2 separate regions of the Homo sapiens genome follow, and region 1 is linked to region 2. The links are contacts of gene promoters, found by promoter capture Hi-C in blood cells and fetal thymus (Javierre and others, 2016). All regions are on one chromosome and are shown on one strand. The core of a region is centred on a gene start or on the middle of the fragment in contact, and the rest is flanking DNA. Distances in the headings are between cores, read along the strand shown. Region 1 holds the start of PTRHD1 (peptidyl-tRNA hydrolase domain containing 1). Region 2 holds the start of FKBP1B (FKBP prolyl isomerase 1B).

Region 1 (3,278 bases), core at 265-2,764, 740 kb before region 2:
TTCTTTTTAAAACTGTAATTTAAGTTAGGTTTTATGGCAAGCTTTCCCAAAGTACTAACGTAGAACCCTTTGGATTTAGGCATCAGGCTTGAGTAAGTATTTCAAAGTTCTAAAAAGTATTAGTAGCAAAGAACATAAAGTCACACAAAACCAGAACTGTCCACAAATATTACTAGGCACTAAAGAAGAAAGCAACTTACTCCTGGACAGAAATTCAAACGCAAATCTCAGTTTCCAAAGGATTGACTAAGGACTAAGTAAAAGTAATAGTTTCGTAATTCTAAGCAACTCTAACAAGCATTCTTTAAACACCTTCTACATTTTAAGACACAAAGTATGTAAAGAATTAAGCCTTTCATTGAATATTTCCTATATATTAGACATGTGCTAAATGCTTCACTTGAAAAGTCTGAGTTCAATACTTTTCCACCACAAAAGAAATACTTTTTCCACAACCACAACTACAGTGCTATTTTCACCTCCATTTTCCAGATGAAGAAACAGAGGCAGAGAATAAAGTGACTTGCCTAAGGTCACAATATTTATCATGGCAGAGCCAACACTCAAAACCAGTTCTAGCCAACACTAAAGTCACTGCCCTACACTGGCCCTCCCTCAAGAGTAATGCATACATGGCCCAAAAAATCCGGGGAGAGGAAAGGGACCTCCCTGGCTAGAACCGCAGTTCAGAATATAAACACTGAGCATATGATGGATGCAACTTATCCGTTTCAAAAGGGGTGGGAGCCTAGAAACGAAGCCATTTTTCCTCCTCGAATAATCTTGGCTGCCTGTCCCTTTGTCTTCAATGTTAGTTCCTTTCACTATTCTGCTCCCAAACAGGCCAGGTCCCACGTCAGTTCCAGGAGGAAAGGGCTCTCTCAGCCTGCGGGTCATCTTTGGGCAGCAGCAGGAAGGAGGCGGCGACCCTCTGAATACCTCCTTTGGACTCGCCATCTGGACGTAAAGGGTTCGCCTGCTCCATCTCAGATTCCCAAGGGCCTTCCCATGAAGTTGTCTAGGCAACCGGTGATAGGGACTCCAATGTCCTTGCTAATAAAAGAAAAATGGCAACAGTCACATCACATCTAGTCCCATTCAAACCCAGACGGCAGGGCACACACCACTCAGGCACAACCCCTGGGCCGCGGATGACACAAATGTCACGGCTAGGATCCCCTTTCCTGAGCCGCCCGCCCTCTCCCATCGTCCGAGCCAGCAGAGTCCATGCCCACCCCCGCGCCCATCCCGCGGCCCCGGCGCGCTCCCGAGGCCACGGCTACTCTGGTCCAGCGGGCTTCCCGGCCACGGAAGGAGTTTTAAGAAGGCCGTTCAGCCCGCCACCCTGGCCACGGTCCGGTCCGACAATGGGTCTTTCCCCTACCTTCTCCCTTCTAGCTCACCCAGGCCAGAAGCGAGAATTCCCGCCATCCACGTCTTCAAAACCAAACCAACCGGTCCCGGCGTGCTTTGCGATCCTGCCGTACAAAAGCATGGCGGCGCTCAGGGCCCCGCCCTGATCCCAAGATGCACCGGGGAGTAGGTCCGGCCTTTCGGGTGGTCAGGAAGATGGCGGCCTCTGGGGCGGAGCCGCAGGTCCTGGTACAATACTTGGTGTTACGAAAGGATCTATCACAAGCTCCGTTCTCCTGGCCGGCGGGCGCACTGGTAGCGCAGGCTTGTCACGCGGCCACCGCGGCCTTGCACACTCACCGCGACCACCCGCACACAGCCGCTTACCTCCAAGAGCTGGGGCGCATGCGCAAAGTGGTCCTCGAGGTGAGGCACTCGGGCGGAGGGGGAGGTGCTGAGACATCGAGGGCGGAAGTGGGTGTGGTCTTCGGTCCGAAGGCCTGGCTGCGGGGAGTGGGTGCGGCGGGAGTTGGGGTGATCGTTAACATTTAGACTGGAGCTGTTTCCCTGGAGGTGCGCCCTTGGGAAGGGCCTGACTGTGTGAAGAGTGGACAGCAGTCCTCCGCCCCCTGCTGGGCTCGCGGTAAAGTGGTGGCTCCTGTGTCCCCGCTGTTCCGCCTGTGCACTGGCCGACTTTTTAAAGCCATGCCCCAAAGTGCTGTCCTCCTGCAAAACCGAGCCCGAAGGGACAGTGCAAAGTGAAGTCAAACTGAGTATTTACCTGGGTAGGACGCCAAATTATTTGAAAATAAATACTAAAAACGTTAGTATAAATTGAACCTAGCTTCAGCTAGACCAGGCACCAGGTGTGTAAATCGGTACACCTTTTAAAATAGCAGTCAGGTTCTGTTTGCAGATGACCAAACAAATCTCACCCTTACCCTTTGACTCTCTATCCTGCTGCTAGAGATGTAGCCTAAGAAAATAATCAGATGCACCCAAAGAGCTTTGCACAAGGATATTCATGGGAGCCCTTATGGTTTTGAAGCATATTTAGTGGTCGGGAAGAGTGCTCATGATGCGAAGCTAACTGAACTATATATACAGAATGATCCAGACTTTGAAAGGAAAAACTAAAGAAATACATCTACATATTAAGTAGTGCATGGTGAGATTTTGGTTATTTCCTAATGCTTAATCTGTATTTTTAAAATTTTCTACCTTAAGCACATATTTTATAATAAGGAAAAACGGCTTTAATAATAAACGGCTTTTTATAATAAGGAAAAACGGCTTTAAGCCAGAACTCAGGTGGAGGGGTGGAGTAATCCCTTCATGGGTAACTGACAAAGATAGATTATCTTTCAAGAGAAAAATTGCTGCTGGATAGTGAAACATCAAGCGGTAACCTGTAGGAAAAATGCCTTGAGAATCTGTGTAGGCAGAACAGAAGCTGCTGGCTTTTCACTTAGATTTTCTTCCTAGTAAGAGGTCTCAAGAAATCAGGTTAGACTCCTCTTGTCGCAGGTGAAACTCTCTGAAGCCTACAGGGATTAAGTGACTCCCCTGAGTTTAAAAGAGGGTCTCATGATTCTTAGTTGTTAGTCATGACTCAAGAAAGGGACTTAGGAGTCGCTACTGATTACATTGAGGTGCCGCTGTAGTCAGAAGGGCCAATAAAATATAAGAAAATACCAGGATTAACTACATTTATTGAGTGCTTAGTGTGTGCCAGGCACAGGTCCAAGCCTGATTTCATTGATCCCCATTAGGAAGCATTATTCCTGTTTTATAAAGGGACGAAGAGGCCAGCGAAGTCACCTAACTTATCCACGATCACACAGTCAGCAAGAGTTTGGAGTCCAGTAGTCTGATTCCAGAGCCTCACTGTATCTCACTATGCTCTGCTGCTGCCCGAGGCTGAA
Region 2 (2,993 bases), core at 362-2,861:
TTTTTCTTTTTTTTTTTTGAGATAGAGTCTTGCTCTGTCACCCAGGCTGGAGTGCAATGGCACAATCTCAGCTCACTGCAACCTCTGGCTCCCAGGGTCAAGTGATTCTCCTGCCCCAGCCTCCCGAGTAGCTGGGATTACAGGTGCGTACCACCATGCCCAGCTAATTTTTGTATTTTTAGTAGAGACGGGGTTTCAACATGTTGGTCAGGCTGGTCTCGAACTCCTGACCTTGTGATCCGCCCGCCTCAGCCTCCCAAAGTGCTGGGATTACAGGCGTGAGCCACTGCATTTTAAGAAGAGTCTTCAGGCTATGATATAGAAAGGGAGTGAATATGAGATTGGGGACGAGATTGAAAGCAGGGAGGAGAGACTGAAGATGGGGAGATTAGCTCAGGGGCTGCTGAGGGATGAAAAGGCCTCAGGGAGATGCTTTCTGGGACCCAGCAGCAATGTTTCCTGCGTGGGCAAAGAAGCCTGTACTCCAGGGGATATCTGAAGTAGTGGCTGGGATTGGACAAGGAAGATGGCCTGGAGCCAAGAAGTTATCCAATTTCCTGGGGAGGGGAGCTGTTCATATTAATAATATCTGATATGAAGTTTGCCCATCAAACCCTGCAGACAATGGGGGCTTTGGTATTAATTAAATTTCAAGAAATAAAGAAATGGCTATTCCTTGCACACCCAGACCCAGTAATACAAGGACTTGGGAAAGTGAGACACGGAAGGGGGATAAAGAGGATCACTTAGGAGAGAAGGTGGGAAGCGAGAGTTCTGTTTTGGACTTGCTGACCAGGGAGCACCCTGGGACGTCCAGGGAGAGGTTCGGCCGTAGGTCGCAGGGCTGGGCTTAGAAGCTTCAATGTGGAGGCCATGGGAGTGGACAGGGTGGCCAGGGAGTCTGAAAGCGGCGGCAGGATAAAGCGAGATCCGGAAGCGGGCAAGGGAGCGCTTCCCCCTTCCCCAGCCTGGGTCTGTCCCCACAGCCGCTCACAGCCCGGCCCGCAGGGAAGCGACCGAGGGGAGGCCCGGCGGGGGACGCGCTAGGAGGAGGTCCCCGAGCAGCGGGTATCCGAGAGCAGGTCCTGCTTTCCAGAGCTCGCCGAGTAGGGCAGGGAAAGCGAAGCCGAAACCCAGGCTGGGGTATCAGCAGCAGCGGATAACCGAACGACTGCAGCCGCGACAGGAGAAGCCCGGGGCGGTGGCGGGCCGCAGACCCCCGCCTCCGGGCCGCAGACCCCCGCCTCCGAGCTGCCGCCTACATTCCCCTAGGTGAGCGCGGAAGAGGATGGCGGAGGATGGTCTCCTAGACCCCCAAGAATCCCGTCCGGCGTCTCCGCCTGCCTTCCCCATCCAGCCCCCCGACCCTTCAGCACCCTCCACGCCACCTCCGAATCAGACCCCCGCCCTCCGGGCTCCGCCCCGGGACCCCTCCCCTCCCCTGGCTCCGGAGGGAGCCCGGTACCGTCTCCGGGGGAGATGGTCTCGATCTCCACGCCCATAGCGGTCCCACAGGCCCCGCCTCTGGGGGGTCCCTGCTGCTGCCCGACCCCGGCTCGGCTCCGGCCCCAGCCCCGCCGTCGCTCCGGCTCGCCTCCTCGCCGCCACTGCAGAGCCGGAGGAGGTGCGGCTGGAGTCGGGACCTGCGCGGGGAGGGGCCACTGGCAAGGGGGCGGCGGGGCGGAGCCGCGCGGAAAGGTGGGGTCGGCCGGGGCGGGGCCCGGGGGAAGGGACCCCGCCCGGCTGTTAGCGAGCCTGGCCCCGCCTGACGACATTAACCCACTGACCAGGGAGCGTGGTAAGCACAACCACATCCTCCATCCATCCATTCATTCGCGCATCCGTCCAATAGACATTTATTTAGCATCTAATCTGTAGTAAGCTCTGGGAAGTCAACCCAGTCCTACAGACTTGTGGGGGGTGGGGGGCAGAAGGGGCAAAGGCCGGCGATTAAACCATCATTTTATTTTTATTTTTATTTTAGACAGAGGATCTTGCTCTGTCGCCCAGGCTGGAGTCCAGTGGCGCGATCATAGCTCACAGCAACCTCGAACTCTTAGGCTCAAGCGATCCTTCTTCCTCAGCCTCCACCCAAGTAGCTGGGACTAGAGGCGCGAGCAACCACGCCCAGCTAATCTTTTATTTTTTATTTTTATTTTTTGTAGAAACGGGGTCTCGCTGTGTTGCTATCTAATGAAACCATCACTTTAATTAGATGCGCTCAGTGCCGTGCAGTTCAGAGCGTTGCGGAAGCACAGAAGAGGTTCCTACCCTCGCTAGGCGTCCTGGATCTGTAGGAGCAGAGCTGGGGGAGGGAGGGAGGACACCAGTAATTGCTGACTCTCCCCCATACCCCTAAACCCCTGTTCTCCATCTCGTGTAGTTCTGCTCGACGCACATTTATTGGGTACTCAATTTTCAAGGCAAAGAAATGCGCCCTGGGGATACCAATAGAATTAAGACAGGTTGGCTGTCTTCCAGGTACTAAGTCTGAGAGGGACGGGGACACACAGTTACTGCATGGAGTGATTAGTGCTGTGGAATGAATGAATGAATATGTAAATGAATTCTACTTTGAGTTCCTCCTCCACCAAAAAATACATTCAGGAATCTAGAAAAATATTTTTTGGAGGAGGTAATATTTGTTTAAAGGGTAATTGGGACTTTTAAAATTTTTTCCCCCTCATTATTACCTGCATTGTTCCAAAAATTGATGTGAGGCCAAGTATATCAATTTTTGGAACAATGGCTCACACCTGTAATCTCAACACTGTAGGAGACCGAGGCAGGAGGATTGCTTGAGCCTAGAAGTTCAAGACCAGCCTGGGTAACATAGCGAGATCCCGTCTCTCTCTCTCTCCTTTTTTTTTTTTTTTTTTTTGAGACAGAATCTTCACTCTGTCGCCAGGATGGAGTGCAGTGGCACAATCTCGGCTCACTGCAACCTCCGCCTCCCAGGTTCAAGCGATTCTCGTGCCTCAGTCTCCCAAGTA

Evidence for each region. Contacts are between HindIII fragments. The CHiCAGO score rates a contact against its expected background, and 5 or more counts as called.
Region 1: a contact is called between the fragment with the promoter of PTRHD1 here and the fragment with the promoter of FKBP1B in region 2, in 10 of 17 cell types (M2 macrophages, non-activated CD4 T cells, neutrophils and 7 more). The highest score is 11.4, in M2 macrophages.

Annotation. Positions count from the first base shown.
Region 1 is chr2:24,791,627-24,794,904 of GRCh38, reverse strand. It overlaps PTRHD1 (peptidyl-tRNA hydrolase domain containing 1), which reads left to right and starts at 1,514. Exons shown (of 2, transcript NM_001013663.2): 1 at 1,514-1,779. The coding sequence starts at 1,528. CENPO (centromere protein O) reads right to left here and starts at 1,480. Exons shown (of 8, transcript NM_001322101.2): 1 at 1,404-1,480; 2 at 940-1,053. The coding sequence starts at 985. LOC105369164 (a long non-coding RNA gene) reads left to right here and starts at 1,830. Exons shown (of 3, transcript XR_939843.4): 1 at 1,830-2,138; 2 at 2,321-2,521; 3 at 3,126-3,278. RefSeq lists an enhancer at 1,424-1,853. The HindIII fragment of the contact is 6,911 bases long and covers 44-3,278 here.
Region 2 is chr2:24,048,359-24,051,351 of GRCh38, reverse strand. It overlaps FKBP1B (FKBP prolyl isomerase 1B), which reads right to left and starts at 1,611. Exons shown (of 4, transcript NM_004116.5): 1 at 1,466-1,611. The coding sequence starts at 1,502. RefSeq lists a silencer at 1,450-1,749. The HindIII fragment of the contact is 22,874 bases long and covers 860-2,993 here.